Regions from separate parts of the Homo sapiens genome. Here regions 2 and 3 are each linked to region 1. Evidence: promoter capture Hi-C in human tissues and cell types (Jung and others, 2019). All regions are on one chromosome and are shown on one strand. The core of a region is centred on a gene start or on the middle of the fragment in contact, and the rest is flanking DNA. Distances in the headings are between cores, read along the strand shown. Region 1 holds the start of AGBL5 (AGBL carboxypeptidase 5). Region 2 holds the start of KRTCAP3 (keratinocyte associated protein 3). Region 3 holds the start of UCN (urocortin).

Region 1 (5,120 bases), core at 878-3,377:
CCAACTTCCCTCCCTGTGACACTTTCTATATGAAAAGTGGCTCCTTCTAGGCTTCCTGAGGCAGGGGCTCATCTTGGACTCTAGCTAACACTGGAGAAAAAGCTGATACTTAAACCTGTTGTCCCACCTGCTTCATACTTGTATCAAGGAAAAAAAAACGCTTTACTTTCCTCTCTACTTTTAGCACCCAAGTCTTTCTTTCCTCCTCATGGAGAACTTACCTCAAAGGTGGGCCGGTCTCGAATGCGTTCCCAGCGTGGCCGGGTGGGCAGTGTGCGCACAAAGGGGGCCATGCCCTGGGAATACAGCTTGCTCTGCTTGTTCATGTTCATAATGTTGATCTTGATGAGTTTTCCTGGCATTCCTCCCCGGACGCTGAAGTAGAACCATGACCTGAGGACCAGAGTAAGAGAGAGGTCATTACGTGTGGAAGGGTTGGAGATATGGTCTGTGGGAGAGCCGGAGCCAGCCAAACTGGGAAAGGGCTATTTGGCAAGGAGAAAGGAGGGACGATGGGTCAGAAATGGACAGGGAGTATGCTGGGTATGAACAGATAAGTCAGAGGGCTAACTGAAGCATGGGTTTGGAGCCTTTTTCCACCCTCCATTTCGTTCCATATACCTGTTCCCATTCTCAAATTCCGTTTCAGCACAGTCTGGTCGGGTCCACACGTTGAATTCATAGTCAGGGGAAGAGGCAATGCCACTGGTCAGGGCTGACGCCCCACCTCCTACCCCTTCCCCATCACTGGACAAAGATTCCACCTTCTCCACGTGGGCTAGATTCCCTGAATCAAAGCGAGAACTGAACAGCAATCCCCCACAGCGCAGCTCCATGGTGGGGCTGGGAAAGCATCCTCCTGCCCCGCTCTGGCCCTGAGAGCTGGGGGAAAACAAGGGTTAGGTTAAGGAGGAAAGGGAAGACAAATCGAAGAGTTTTCTGGGTATCTCTTGATAAATAAGAGCTATTCTTAGGGAGTGCCCTATGAAACAAAAGGCTGTCTCCCTCTTAGAAAACATAGAAGTGGTCTTCCAGCAAAGGCCAAGAGAAAGCAGCATTCTGTACCCCAACACTAAGGGTTGTAAATGACCTAAAGGGACCCCATTTTACTTTAGCTTGGCTGTTCCCAAATAAAACTCAGTGGCTTAACTATGTTGAAAAACACTAAACTCTCAGCTGCTTTGCAGCCCAAAGATTAGAGAATATAATCAGAGAGGTCAGATTTTCCAAACCTAGCCAAGATACACTCACCACCATACATGGCCACCTTTAGAGATGGGCCGTTCTGGATCTCTGGCTCTGCACTCTCCAGCACAGAGCAGAGAGAGGAATCGAGGTTCTGAGTGTAAATGGGTAGTCCTCTCTCCAGCCTCTGTCCTCACAAGTACTGAGCGGACATTCTGGTGTTGCTCCCCTGAGCCCTGGAAGGGCTGGTTCTTCCTTTTTTGTTCCTACCTTATGCCTAGTATGGAGAAAAACTATAACAGTGGTGCCTCTGCCAAGCCAAAGGCTACTGGGCTCACCTAGCGACTGGAGCTCCCTTCCAGCCAGGGCATGGGTCTGTTTCCATCCCCCTCCGCCCCGTAAGCACTGCACCCTGAGAAAGCTACCCTAGTAGCTGTGGATGAGTAATGGGTGTTCTCAGCACCCCTAAAAGAGGTGGGCTGCTAGAGTCCCACTCGGGGGAAGGAGGCTGGCTTCTCCACCCTCGACTCGCGGGGAACCGTCACACCGAGCGGGCTTGCCCTGGGCAGGGTGGGACTGGGAGGCATGGAAGGGGTCGAGACGGGCTCCCGCGGCAGGGGATTAGGCAGGGAGGGCCTAGGAGTCAGAGGTGAGGCCACGGAGCTGGGCGGGGTCGGGACCGCGTAAGCCAGGTCGGGAGCGGGGTGCGGGGTGGCCTTCGAGGGGCTCGGGCTCAAGGGGCTGAGAGAAGGGGGCGGGGCCGGGGCTGGCGGGGCCGGGGCTGGCGGGGCCCGTAGTCCGCGCAGAGCCCCTCACCTCTCTCCGGGCCGGTGATCCCGCTCCCTCTCCCGCTAGCGAGGCCGCACCTTGGGCCCCGGCACCCGGGCCCTCCACCCGGGCCCCCAAAAACACCCGAGCGCCGCGGTGCCGGGACCCCGCTCTGCCAGGAAACAAGAAGTCTCTCGCCTATTGGCCGTGGCTGCAGCTGGCGACCCGCCCAGTAAAGCTCGCTACCATTGGTCAGCTCTCAGGGTTCCTCGCACGTTAGTGGGTACCTGAGCGAGTGTCGTTCGGGGACGATGGCGGGCAGGAGCGGCCGGAGGGTTCTAGCAGCGTCTTCCGGAAGACGGTTAACGGCCTGCCTGCCGGGAGGCGGGAAAGATAAAGCGGCAGAAACTGGGACTCAACTGCGAAATAAAAAGACATCGTGTGAAACTCCTTATCGCTTAACAGTCTTGTGTCTCTAAAATGAAACACGTAGCCCACTGCGCCGGGAATCCCTCCCGTTTTGTGTTCTGTAGTGTGACGGACGCAAAAGCTGAGTGGAGGATGCGGGCATCGATCCCGCTACCTCTCGCATGCTAAGCGAGCGCTCTACCATTTGAGCTAATCCCCCGCCTGCTGCTTAGTTCTTTCCCTTTGCCTTACAGGTTCACTGCACTGTTCACTGACCAGTGGATCAACCACAGTTCAGGACATTTATTTAGCAGAGTACAATACAGTGGCATCCATGTGCAAGATTCTAAAAATCAAGCATATAATCGTGTGCTTAAGCAGAAAACATTCTAAAACACGTTACCACATGTACATTGAACGCAGAAAGAGCGTTACCGTATACTACATACTACGGTGTTCCCTATGGACTGACGGCAGTACGAATGCTAAGTCACAGGAGGCCTCCAAGCCTTTCCCCTTATGGGATAATTGAATTAAATTGAGGTTAAAAATTACAGACGAAGTCCTTCGAGCCGGAATCGAACCAGCGACCTAAGGATTGCCACGCCCTATCCACTACAGTCCTCCGCTCTACCAACTGAGCTATCGAAGGCTCCGCTGCGATAAGATGCTGCTGATAGCCCTCTAATGCTTACCGCAACCTCATCCAGCCATGACCCCCGCTTTCTCCAGCTGAAGGAACCTGCCAGGGCAGGAGACCCATGGGACCTCACAGAGCTGAGAAAGCCGGAGACCCAAAGGCAAGGAAAAGAAGCTGCCCAAAGTCCGGGTTCTCAGGCCAGAACGGAGGCCACACCGGCCCTGAGCTTCCCGGCTTTTTAACAAAATGTTCCCAACACCCCGCGGTGGTTTCTCCTGGACCGCGAACGCCGAGCCCGCCGCCGCCTCCTGGAGCTCCGGGGCAGCGCTTGTGCCGCGGTACCTGCACTCACAGGGGCTTTGCGACCGCGACGCGCAAACCCTGCTCGAGAGCCGATGGGCCACTTTGGCTGCTCCTGCTCCACATTTCCCTTGGCTTCTCCGGACGTGCTCTCCTGACGCGAACGACATTCGCTCGGCCAATTAACTCAGGTTTTGTCAGGCTCTATTCGTCCTGACCAGTGCAAGAGAGACGGCGACCGCGGGGTGCTGCAGGCTTCGGCGCGGCGCATTATCGGGCTGTGCCGAACCCCCCGGGCCGCCCTGGGATCGCGGGCCTGGCGGCGTGGCCCGAGGGCTCGGGGAGAGGGCTACGCGCCAGGAGAGGGCGGCGGGGCTGCAGTACAGGCTTTCCTGCCCTCGGAAGCGCTCGCAAGCCTGGGGGATTCCCCTGCGGTAGACCTGGGATGGTGGGCGGCGCGCGGCCGGGTAGGTCCCTGCAGCCTCCGAGGCCCACGTGAGGTCGGGGTCGGGGCGGCTGTACAGTGCCCAGCACAGGCCACTGGCCTCCCTTGTGGGTCTTTGCACAGGTCCGCTTACTCTCGGAAATCTTGGGTTCCCCAGGGCCGGGGAAGGGTCTTCTGCCTGGTCTGGGGCCCCTCCCCCGACACTGTGGATGTCTAGGTGTCCCGGGTGGGGTCAAGGAGTGACCCCACGGGTTCCCCCATCTTTGTCCCTATCCAGCTCACACCTTCGCCTGTCTTTTGCATGTGTTTTTTCCACAACCTTTTGTTCACCGGGTTTTTAACAACAGAAATAAACCTAACCCCCAACTCCTCTGTGAAGCCCTGCTTGGTCGTCCTGTGGGGTGGGTGTGCCGGAAGACCTGGCCTCAATTTCCAGCTCTGGGCCAACGTCCTGTGCTACCTTGAGCCAACATCGCCCGCGAATCCAGGTCTGGTGATGCTTTCTAGCCCCTTGCAGCTCCAACATTTGATGGGTTCTCTCGGGCTGAGCTTTAAATCCGAAGTTTCTAGATATAAAGTTGTGTCAACATTTAGATAGAAGAATATAGAAGATCTGCATAGCTTTTATTATTCAATATCAAAAAATCACATTCATGGCCAGGCGTGGTGGCTCACACCTGTAATCCCAGCACTTTGGAAGGCCGAGGTGGGCGGATCCCCGGAGTTCAAGAGTTGCAGACCAGCCTGGCCAACATGGTGAAACCTGTCTCTACTAACATACAAAAATAATTAGCAGAGGATGGTGGCGCGCGCCTGTAATCCCAGCTACTCCGGAGGCTGAGGTGGGAGAATCGCTTGAACTCGAGAGGCGGAGGTTGCAGTAAACCGAGATCGCGCCACTCCAGCCTAGGCAACAAGAGCGAAACTCCGTCTCAAAAAAAAAAAAAAAAAAAAAAGCAGCCGGGAGTGGTAGTGAGCTCCTACCACTCCGGTAATCCCCAGCAACTCGGGAGCCTGAGGCAGGAGAATCGCTTGAACTTGGGAGGCGGATTGCAGTGAGCCTAGAGTGCGCCACTGCACAACAGCCTGGGAGACAGAGAGAGACTCTGTCTCAAAGAAAAGGCCACACGCGGTGGCTCACGCCTGTAATCCCAGCATTTCGGGAAGCCGAGGCGGGTGAATCACCTGAGTTCAGGAGTTCGACACCAGCCTGGACAACATGGAAACCCCTTCTCTACTAAAAATAAAAAATTAGCCGGACGTGGTGGCGCATGCCTGTAATCCTAGCTACTTGGGAGGCTGAGGCAGGAGAATCCCTTGAACCCAGGAGGCGGAGGTTGCAGTGAGCCGAGATCGTGCCACTGCACTCCACCG
Region 2 (5,120 bases), core at 1,015-3,514, 390 kb before region 1:
TACACACTAGAAAGATGGGTGGGATTACAGGAAGGCAGATGCAGACCCTGAAGCCTGCGATGGAGCTGATTTTGTATTTCCAGCATTAACAAGTTCCTCTCATGTTCTTCCATTTGCTCACAGACCTCCCACAGCCCAGTGTGCCAGGACGTGCTGAAATTCATCAGTCAGTGGTGTGGAGGGCTCCCCAGCACCAGCTTTTCCTTTCAGTAGTTGGTAGAGCTGAGGAAGAGTTAGGGCCTCTCCCTCATTAAAGTTTTATAAATAATTGAGACCACTGTATTCTTTGATCAAAGTCATTCCCAACACCACACAGTGCCTTTTCCCCAAAAGGAATCATAATCAAGTAGAAGAAAAGAGAAGTTACTTTATTACAATTTGTTATCTCATCCCGAGGTCAGGGCCCCTTGCTTAGTGGGAAAAAAAACCCTTTAGGACTGAGTCTCGGAACAGCACCTGCTGGACAGAGGGGAGAACCAACCCAGGTCAGAGGGGAAAGCAGCATGGCAAGACCTAGACCCAGTTCTAAGAGCACTTCCTTGTCCCCGCTCTTACCCGGGCCACCACCTTCAAGGCCCATTACCTGTCCTAAACCCAACTTCTCTGTGATGCCCGGATTTCTTGATTTTGATCCAGTAGCTGCTCATTTTCCTGCCTTTTACATTTAGGAGATTCAAGCTCTGTCATTTCCTCTAGCTGCAGAAGAAGATAGAGTTAGACACCCTCGCCCTGAATGATAGGTCAGCATCTTTTTTTTGTTTTGTTTTTTGTGACGGAGCCTCACTCTGTTGCCCAGGCTGGAGTGCAGTGGCGTGATCTCGGTTCACTGCAACCTCCGCCTTCCGGGTTCAAGCGATTCTCCTGCCTCAGCCTTCCAAGTAGCTGGGATTACAGGCGCCCACCACCCCACCTAATTTTTTGTATTTTTAGTAGAGACGAGGTTTCACCATGTTGTCCAAGCTGGTCTCAAACTCCTGACCTCAAGTGATCCGCCTGCCTCAGCCTCCCAAAGTGCTGGGATTACAGGTGTGAGCCTCCGCACCCGGCCGGTCAGCATCTTTTCAACACAGCCAGTCTCTGTGGAATGAACCCTTCCTGTTTGCCTTCCTTACCTGCCCCTGAAGTCCGTCCTTCCTGCAGGGCCCAACTCCACGTAGAGTGAGTGCAGCCACACAGCAGTAACCAGATAGAGCAGCCTCCCCTGCAGACATGAGCAAAGAAGGGATCCAGAGAGCCAAGGCTGTATCCTGAAAAGCAAGAAGGATGGGGAGTAGGAGGGAGTAGGGCAAGTGCAGCAAATAGGGGAAATTAAAAGGGCAGGACCAAGGCTTTGTAGACCACAAGAAGGAAGAGAATGTGCTCACATAGATTCTTGTGGGGTCAAAGGGGCAGTCAGTATGTCCCGGCCCCTCATCCAGTGGTACCAGAGGATCCAGCAGTCCTGGGTGGCAGTCAGCAATAAGGCGGCGGCCACCGTTGGCCACAGTGAGTGACACAGCAAGAAGGAGGCCCAGGGAGCAGGCAACGGACAAGAGCAGGTTCACCAGAGCTAGTGCCAGCAGGACCCAGTGCTGGCAGGGACAGGAGATCAGGGTGAGCAGCCTGGGCCTGGCTAACTCTCCCAGTGACTAGACACCCAGTTTCTCTGAGGCTCCTCCAATCTATTGAAAGACCAAGCTCAGTCAGCCCCCATTTCCCTGACTCAAGCCTACTCGTTAAAAGCTCCAGGGAAGTCCCTCTCACCAGTGGAGGGCGAAGAAGGTTCCTGGACGCCAGGAGGGCCACAAGTCCCACGGAAACGCTCTGTGGAAGACACAAAGCCTTTGGCCTGCTGGGCTCTCCGGGAGCCCGGCCCCCGCCCGGGTCGCCTGCCGCGCTCACCAGCAGCCCCGAGCCGACAGAGATGACATTGGCTACGGTGTACTCCGGCGTGACAGCGCCGCGGGGATTGGCCACGTGCCGCAGGACGGTGCCATGCAGCACGGCCCCCAGCAGCAGGTTCACGTGGCCCACCAAGATCAGCGCGAGGCCCACACGCATCAGCCGCCTGGGCCCCCGGGCGGCGTCTGCAAAGCACGGGGGAGGGCAGGGTTGAGTCGGGCGGGGAGGGGAGAGGCGGCTCGCGGCGGGTTAACCGCGGGCAGTAGGACGGGGCAAGGGTAGCCCCAGGGTAAGGAGACGAGACGCCAGGGCCCGGAAGTTACCGAAAGCGCAGAGACTGCAGCGCCTCATCCCGTCCGCCGCGCCAGCCGCAGGGCCGCTGTACCTGGGCCCGGCCCCGCCCCAACCTGGGCCCCGCCTCCGTCCCGGGTCCCCCTCCCACCTGGGCCCCGCCTCCGCCCCGGGCCCGCTCCCCCTGGCGGGAAAGGCGCGAACACACGACGCTTTTAGCAAAAAGTAGACTTTTATTACAGCAGCAACTGAGGCGAATCGAATGGCCCCCCAGGGCCACCACTGCAGCACCACCTTTCTCTCCCGCCCCGGCCGCCCCAGCGGGATTGTAGAATTCGGCTCCCCTAGTGCCCGTGGGCCTCCTTTCCACACAGGCTGGGCGGGAGCCGGCAGATCAGCGACTAGCCCCCAACTAGAAGGCGGCTGCTGAGAAGGCCCAGGCCCACGTCTGTGCAAAACAAGTAAACAAAGTGCAGAGGGGAGGAAGAGAGGGGAGGGGAAAGGATGATGCTCAGAACCAGGGAGCCCCCCCAGCCCTCCTGAATAATAAAGGAGGGAAGGGGCTTCACAGGGTAATACTGACTGGGGGGAAGGGACAGGAGGGCTGCAGCACGTCCAGGGACAGCCACAGCGCAGATCAGGGCCTGGCCCGAGTGAGCTCTAAGAGGAGACGGTGACAGCGGCTGAGTTGAGGGTACTGTTCCTGGCAAAATTGAACTTGTTCAAGGTCTCTTCTAGCAGAGAAGTCAACCGGCTCTGGTCAGCCTGGGGGAGAAGAGCTCAGTAAGATGGGGGCTGAGAGAAGAGAAGGCATGGGGGCAGCCAGGGCAGATGAAGGCAGAAACCTCACCTCACTAATGAAGCCCAGCTGCACCAGCTCAGCCGCCAACTCGGGGATATTCTCATCTGACAAAGAAACAGGAGGGGGTGAGTACAGTACGGGACTGAGGGACCTGGGGCCCTTCAGACAGCCCCACTAGGGCTAAACTGTCAGTCAGATCCACCCACTGCTTTAGGGTCTAAGATAGTCATTCTATGTGAGTCAATGTGTTACTGCCTTGTCACCTCCCCCACCCCTGAATATGTCCCTAAAAGATAAGGCTCATAGACTCTCCATCCTCTGAGGGAAAGGAGAGACTCACTTGGCATCAGGTCACAGCTCAGGTGCCGGTTCAGTTTGTCCTCCAACTTCAGCAGAAGTGTCAGCTGGAGAATAGGACAGTCAGAAAATGAGACTTTTCTTCCCTACCCTCTGGCTACTAGCCCTGCGCAACCCTAGCCCTGAGCCTTACGTGGTGTTTGACTCCCTCCTCCACCGACTCAATGTTGCACTGCATCAGCACCACCTAGGGAGGGAAGAGAGGGTCACTCTAGAGACCTGTCCATAAAAAACCCAATACCTAGACGTCTTTCGAGCCCATAGGGCATGGCTGCTAGGGAGCATTTTCTCTAAAGGATAGAGCCTTATTTGAGATGTCCTCTCTCCCTTCCACCACAACCATGGAGACAATCCACACCCACACAGCCCCCACCTTGCGAGTCTCCACCTCAGCTGGTTCAGGTGTCGGAGTCTTGACAGAGGGGGGCACGACAGGTGATGTCACCTCCTCCTGCTGTGGCTGCTGGGGCCGAGGCAGCCCAAAGGCTGTCAGAGGATAGATCCCATTCCTGGAGGGAGATGAAGACAGGTCACATGGGCTCTGTGAACGCCTTAGGATACCCAACCCCGCCTGCTTCCTCAAGAAAGCCTGCTTCTCACTCTGCTCTCACCTGACATCTTCAAGGAATTTATCTAATTCCAGAGCTGGTGACTGAGAGTACCTGGACGAGAAAAGAGAAAGGAGATGGAAGGAAAGAAACAAGCAAAATAGCAAATTCAAGCATTCCCAGAGAATGGACAGTTTACAGAGCCTCAAGAGTGGTCGTGACCAATCTGCCCCTTTCAGACCCTCTCAGTTACTCACAAAGTCTGAACTGGTTCTCTTCCTGGTCCTGCAGGGATTTCAGCCAGTACGGCACTAGTATCCATGTTTTTGGTGATCTCCTCTAGAGCGTTCTCTGGGATCATGTCTGGAGGGCATGATGGAGTGGGATATTATGAAGGGATAGTCAGATTAAATGTCAAAGAAGGCATGCAGGCAAAGGGGTAAAGAATCCCTTTGGAGGCCTGGCACAGTGGCTCATGCCTGTAATCCCAGCACTTTGGGAAGCCGAGGCGGACAGATCACTTGACGCCAGTTCAAGACCAGCCTGGCCAACATGGCGAAACCCCATCTCTACTAAAAGTACAAAAATTACCCAGGCATGGTGGCACATGCCTGTAATCCCAGCTCTTCGGGAGGCTAAGGCACAAGAATCGCTTGAGCCTGGGAGCTGGAGGTTGCAATGAGCTGAGATCAAGCCATTGCACTCCAGCCTGAGAGAGAGTGAGACTCTGTCTCAAAAAAAAAAAAAAAAAAAAAAAAAAAAAAAAAAAAGAATCCCTTTGGAAATAAAGAGGAAAACAAGCATGCCAGTGATAGTTACAGGGCTCCAGATTGGAAGACTATTCCCCATAGGGCCAAGACGACTCACGTTGGTGTCCCACAATGCAGTGGGCCGCAAGGAGTTTGAGCGAGGGCACTTCAAACAATGCTGGGTGGAACAGAAGTTCTCTGGCTGTTGGTCTGCGAGCAGGCTCAGACTGCAGGCACTTTTGAATGAACTCCTAGAAAAGGAAACAAGGAACTGGAGCAGGCATCTGGCAAGCCCCCAGTGTGTTCATCTTTATAGCTCTCATTCTACTTAGCACAAGGCTTTGTACATAGTAGGTGCTCAGCACTTGCTGAGAAAACAATATATTGAAAAATGCACCTGAAAGGGCTTCAAAAACTGTAAGATATTATATGAAAGATACCATCCACTGCCTTTCTGGTTTTAATTATTTTTCTGCTCTCCAACCACAAGCT
Region 3 (5,120 bases), core at 808-3,307, 260 kb before region 1:
GCCTTTGAGGCTCTCAGCCAGGAAACAGAGCTCTGGGATGGCACTAGAATTTGAGCCAGTTGTCCTTTAGTGCAAGCCACACAGGCCCTTCATAGGGTGCTGAAAGGGCTGGGTGTCGTGGCTCACACCTGTAATCCCAGCACTTTGGGAGGCCGAGGTGGGTGGCTCACTTGAGGTCAGGAGTTCGAGACCAGCCTGGCCAACATGGTGAAACCCTGTCTCTCCTAAAAATACAAAAATTAGCCAGGTGTGGTGGAGCACACCTGTAGTCCCAGCTACTTGGGAGGCTGAGGCACGAGAATTGATTGAACCCGGGAGGCAGTGAGCCAAGATTGTGCTACTGCACTCCAGCCTGGGCAACAGAGGAGACTCCATCTCAAAAAAAAGGTGCTGAAGGAAAGAGACCTAAACCTGCCAATCCTTTGTCATGATCCCTCCTTTGCCATTTCATGCTCCCATCTCCAGCCCTTGCTCACTGCTTAGCCTTCCTCCTCTTCATTGTGTTATTCCTGTTCCTTAGGTTGGCCGTTGTCCAATGTGTTGCTGTTATCTGGAACTCCTACCTGTCCTGGAAGGCACATCGGCTCTAAGCCTGCCTCACTCCATCGTTTCCACCTTGCAGTGATGCAGCTTGACCCTGGAACGGTCAGACAACCTCCTCAAAGTGGGCATACCAGTTTCCACGGGGTTGGGTTGCCGGTCAGAGCTTAAGAGGACTAGCACCCTGCAATGCCCCTCTTCACTCTAAAATGTACACTGACTGCTTTAGAGCCCTTGATAATAGTCTTATTCCCACCACATACTAGGCACTCCATAAATATCTGTTGAACCTTCATGACCTTATCAACTTTACACCCATATCCCAGCAAATGCCACTCATCCCCACTCTTCATAGACACATTTGTTACTCTAACCCTGCCTAGGCTTCTTGTAGCTCCAGCTCTTTAGAGACTCCCGGAACCCTTTATATGGTGCCTCAGTAAATATGTTATTAAATATGTAATCCGGAATCTGCAGTGGTAATGAGTAAGTTTTTAAGCAGAAAACTATTGGGGAGTCATTTCTAGAGCTGGAAAGAAGCCAAGAGACCACCAAGCCCAATTTTTTTTTTTTTTTTTTTTTTTTTTTTTGAGACAGGGTCTTGCTCTGTCTCCCAGGCTGGAGTGCAGTGGCGCGATCTTGCCTCACTGCAGCTTCCGCCTCCTGGGTTCAAGCAGTTCTCCTGCCTCAGCCTCCTGAGTAGCTGGGACCACAGGCGCATACCGCCACGCCCGGCTAATTTTTGTATTTTTAGTAGAGATGGGGTTTCGCCATATTGGCCAGGCTGGTTTCAAACTACTGACCTCGTGATCCGCCTGCCTCGGCCTCCCAAAGTGTTGGGATTACAGGCGTGAGCCACCGCGCCTGGCCAAGCCCAGTCTTACAAATGAGGACCCTGAGGTTGGTAGGAGGGAGGTGACCTGTCCACACCAGGAGTTAGCAGAAACTTGAACCCATATTTCTTTGCTGCTCATGGGCAGAGTTACACTGCTGCTATGATTCCCAGGAGAGAAACTGAACTTTGCTAAACTACTTTGGCAAACTCAAAAGCAGATGGGCCAGCCATTTGTGGTCTGAAAGCACTCGGATGCTAGAGACCCTCTGTTACATGGTGCCTGTCAGACAGCCCTACAATTTGGATCCTGGGGCTGGAAAAAGATAAGAATGCTGGGAGACTTTGGTTGTGGCAGACTGCCTCTCAGTGGGTCCCACTGTGTTGGCTGAGTGCCAGCGGTGGACTCCTGATGCCTGCATTTGCAGAACTGATAGCTGCAGGGAGGCAGTGGGTTCCAGCGGCACAGCGTTCTCACATTTCTGGCCACTTCTAGAGGCAGAGGACGGGGTCAGCACCATGGACAGCCTCACGGTCCCGCCTCCCTTTCGTGTGTCAGAACACGCGACCCGGACTAGTCTGGTCTGGGGACGGCCCTAGTCATTGCTGGCTGTTCTAAGCGGGGCGAGGGACTCCCGTGGGTCCCAGAGCAGTCTTTACGCCCCAGCCGGCTTCTCGCTTTCCTGCGTCCAGTGCTGCTTCCAGCGCTAGCCCCAGGGGCACGAAGGCTGGTGTAGGGAGGTGCGCCCCTCCGGGGGCCCGCCAGCCGTCAGACTCGAAGCTGTGGCTGTCATTGCTTCTACAATCAGTGCATGTTCTTCGCTGACGTCAGTCGGAGCTGTCCTGGCACTATATAAGGCTGGCGACAGCCCCGGGACAGACCCTGTGTTCCCCAAGGCGTCTTCAGCCTGCCCCGAGGGACAGAGACTGGAGCTCAATCTTGGACCGTACAGACGCTCGCCGACAACCTGTGAGTGGCTCAGAGCGTCCGCCCAGCCTCCCCCTGCACCAGGACTCCGCTCAGCTCAGCCACCACGCTCCTCCGGGGAGGGAGGCTGGGTGGAAGGGATGGAACAGCACTGGCGCAGTGGCTGGGGCTGGAGGGCAGGCTGCGGGCATTGGGCGGCGGCCGGAGGGGTCGCCGGGCGAGCGCGGGGAGGGGAGCGGCGGCCTGCAGCTGTCCCAGGCGCACCTCACCCTGCGCTGCCCCTGTGTGTCCAGGGCCGGCGGCACCATGAGGCAGGCGGGACGCGCAGCGCTGCTGGCCGCGCTGCTGCTCCTGGTACAGCTGTGCCCTGGGAGCAGCCAGAGGAGCCCCGAGGCGGCCGGGGTCCAGGACCCGAGTCTGCGCTGGAGCCCCGGGGCACGGAACCAGGGTGGCGGGGCCCGCGCGCTCCTCTTGCTGCTGGCGGAGCGCTTCCCGCGCCGCGCGGGGCCCGGCCGATTGGGACTCGGGACGGCAGGCGAGCGGCCGCGGCGGGACAACCCTTCTCTGTCCATTGACCTCACCTTTCACCTGCTGCGGACCCTGCTGGAGCTGGCGCGGACGCAGAGCCAGCGGGAGCGCGCCGAGCAGAACCGCATCATATTCGACTCGGTGGGCAAGTGATGGCCCGGTTTGGGGCTGCGAAAACGTTGACCCCTTTCCCCCACCCCAGAGTTGGGATGCGGGGCAGAGCCACCAGGGCACTGTCTGCGTGACTATTTTTTAATAAAAGTACTGAAGACCCGTTGGCTTTTGTCGTAGAGGCAGGGCAGTCACAGCAGCGTGGGAACCCGTGGGAAGGTGGGGCCCCCGGGCCAGCGGGAGGGGAACAAAATGCTGTGGGGGGCTCCGAGACAGCGGCTTTCAGCCAGGTCAGCCAGGTGCATGTGGACCCCAAGGGTCCCCAAATCCCCAGGACCTCAGAGGTCCCGGCACCACCGCCCCGCCCTCGGCCCTCTTCCCAGGGCGCTGGGCTCACCAGTTCGCTCCTGGCATCACAGAGGTGCCCAATAGGGGTTCATTTGGCTTCCGCCCCCCAGACGGTCTCAGGTTCTGGGAAGGGCAGGATGGTGGGCGGGTCGCCTTCGAAGCCCAGGCTGCGGGGTTGGGCAGCGAAAGGAGATACGGGTCTGGGACGCTCGAGTTCTTTATTGAGATCCTCCCGGGGCCGGCGCCGATTTGGGTGATGCTGCGGTCTCTGCGCAGATCCTCCCCGACTCTAGCGCGGGCTCTCGAGCAGGGTCGGGTCGGCGCAGGCCTGTGCCCGGGAAAGAAGGCTCGGTGGGCGGGTGCTGCGAAGGCACGAGGCAGCTCGAGCCCCGCTCACTCCGTCCCCCGCCACGTGGGTTTCTCCTCTACTCAGCCTGCCTTGCCTGCCCTCCCAGCACCCCAGAGGAACAGCGGGTGAGGAGGAAAGTGTACTTTTCCGCCCTAGGGGGCGCGCCTTTGTGGCTCCGGGGTTGGGTTGCACCGAGGAGTGGGGGCTCCACGCTACCCGCAGGGAGGGCAATCACTGGGGGAGGGGACGCGAGCACACCAGCCAGGCCCCACCCCAAGCCCCTCAGGCCGCTCTCACCTTAAGGCCCATCGGGCGGCTCTCACCTTAAGGCCCATCCGGCCGCTCTTCCTCCGGCCCCGCGCTGCCCTCCTCTCCGTCTGGGGCCACCTCCTCTTCCTCCCCGGAAGCGCCTGAGCCCAAGGAAGGCCTGGTGAGGTGGAGTCCCTGCCTTTACGGCCATCGTGCCCGCCGCACCCCCCACACAGAGGGTCCGAACCCGTCTCAGCGGCCCTCGGCCACCTCCTTCACCTGGCTGGAAGTCGATGGTCCGCAGCATTTCGGCCACGTGCTCCACCCTTACGGTGAATTGCTCCATGCTCTCATAGCCTGGCTCCGGCCGCCCTGCCAGCTCCACCTTCGACATGGCCCCGACCCTGCAGTGGCCACACGGACTCAGCTGGCAATGCCCCAGCACTCTCAAGCCCCACCCCAGCCAGTGGAGCAGTGCAGCCCCCTCCTTTCCCTTCCCGCTATGCCTACTCACTTATTGATCAGCTCCTTGGCCTGCTGCAGGGAAGAAAAGGAGGGTGAGAGTAAGCACTGGGCCAACCTGGGCAAAGTCCCATTTCTGAATCTCACCACAGTCCTGCGGGGTAGGTGGGAAGGCACGTCCCAATTCGTTAAGCAGAAAACGAACTCAGAGGGGGTGACTTGCCCAAGGTCGTAGGGGCAAGCAGGTGCAAGAGACAAGACTTGAACCCGGGACTCCAGGTACCAAGGCCCTGACTCCAGCCACTGTGCAGCGCTGCCACCCTCCCCTAGAGCCCACCTGGAGATACAGCGCCATTTGTGGCTCTTCCATGGACTGGATGGCAGACTCCACCAGCTTAGAGGAGGCCTCCAGGTGGTCGCCATACTGACGGATGAGGCCGCGGACGCGCTGCAGCTTCTCCTCTTGCTCCCGGGCCAGCGCCTGCAGCAGCTCACCCTTGCGCTCCTCCAGCACTGCGCACAGGCTCTCAAACCTCTGGTTTAACAACTGCTTCTGCCTCCGGCTATTGTCCTAAAAGATGGGGAGCAAGGATGAGGGAAGGCGTGGCTGAGACCCGGTGGCTGGGAAAGCACAGGGTACTCACAGAGAACCAACACAGAAAGTGACCCATCCGTAGTGACACTGTGAGTTAGTGGCTGAGCCAGAACCCAGCCCAGATCTTTTCCATAATAAAAACACAATGCTTTAAAGTAGCTTCACTGATTGCTGTCTA

Evidence for each region. The method cuts DNA at HindIII sites, captures the fragments that hold promoters and counts their contacts. A contact is called where the count stands out against the background at its distance.
Region 2: a contact is called between the fragment with the promoter of KRTCAP3 here and the fragment with the promoter of AGBL5 in region 1, in 2 of the 25 tissues and cell types used here (hippocampus and ovary).
Region 3: a contact is called between the fragment with the promoter of UCN here and the fragment with the promoter of AGBL5 in region 1, in 1 of the 25 tissues and cell types used here (spleen).

Annotation. Positions count from the first base shown.
Region 1 is chr2:27,048,675-27,053,794 of GRCh38, reverse strand. It overlaps AGBL5 (AGBL carboxypeptidase 5), which reads right to left and starts at 2,127. Exons shown (of 15, transcript NM_021831.6): 1 at 2,002-2,127; 2 at 622-882; 3 at 222-393. The coding sequence starts at 836. TRY-GTA2-1 (tRNA-Tyr (anticodon GTA) 2-1) reads right to left here and starts at 3,013; the gene lies at 2,925-3,013. It overlaps TRA-AGC8-1 (tRNA-Ala (anticodon AGC) 8-1), which reads right to left and starts at 2,581; the gene lies at 2,509-2,581. AGBL5-AS1 (AGBL5 antisense RNA 1) reads left to right here and starts at 3,531. Exons shown (of 2, transcript NR_046730.1): 1 at 3,531-3,615; 2 at 3,791-4,112. RefSeq lists silencers at 1,627-1,676, 1,697-2,136, 2,540-2,834, 3,537-3,746 and enhancers at 1,873-2,372, 2,687-2,916, 3,087-3,376. The HindIII fragment of the contact is 18,076 bases long and covers 1-5,120 here.
Region 2 is chr2:27,439,525-27,444,644 of GRCh38, reverse strand. KRTCAP3 (keratinocyte associated protein 3) reads right to left here and starts at 2,264. Exons shown (of 7, transcript NM_173853.4): 1 at 2,205-2,264; 2 at 1,882-2,066; 3 at 1,744-1,803; 4 at 1,365-1,571; 5 at 1,113-1,247; 6 at 584-696; 7 at 348-459. The coding sequence starts at 2,232. The coding sequence ends at 589. It overlaps NRBP1 (nuclear receptor binding protein 1), which reads right to left. Exons shown (of 18, transcript NM_013392.4): 11 at 4,747-4,879; 12 at 4,137-4,242; 13 at 3,943-3,993; 14 at 3,705-3,840; 15 at 3,465-3,518; 16 at 3,315-3,378; 17 at 3,023-3,078; 18 at 2,386-2,937. The coding sequence ends at 2,833. It overlaps IFT172 (intraflagellar transport 172), which reads left to right. Exons shown (of 48, transcript NM_015662.3): 48 at 124-268. The coding sequence ends at 213. RefSeq lists an enhancer at 1,587-2,129. The HindIII fragment of the contact is 11,668 bases long and covers 1-5,120 here.
Region 3 is chr2:27,305,382-27,310,501 of GRCh38, reverse strand. UCN (urocortin) reads left to right here and starts at 2,057. Exons shown (of 2, transcript NM_003353.4): 1 at 2,057-2,342; 2 at 2,594-3,102. The coding sequence starts at 2,607. The coding sequence ends at 2,981. TRIM54 (tripartite motif containing 54) reads right to left here. Exons shown (of 9, transcript NM_187841.3): 5 at 4,685-4,918; 6 at 4,400-4,422; 7 at 4,165-4,289; 8 at 3,960-4,046; 9 at 3,067-3,615. The coding sequence ends at 3,961. It overlaps MPV17 (mitochondrial inner membrane protein MPV17), which reads left to right. Exons shown (of 8, transcript NM_002437.5): 8 at 521-1,010. The coding sequence ends at 590. The HindIII fragment of the contact is 27,300 bases long and covers 1-5,120 here.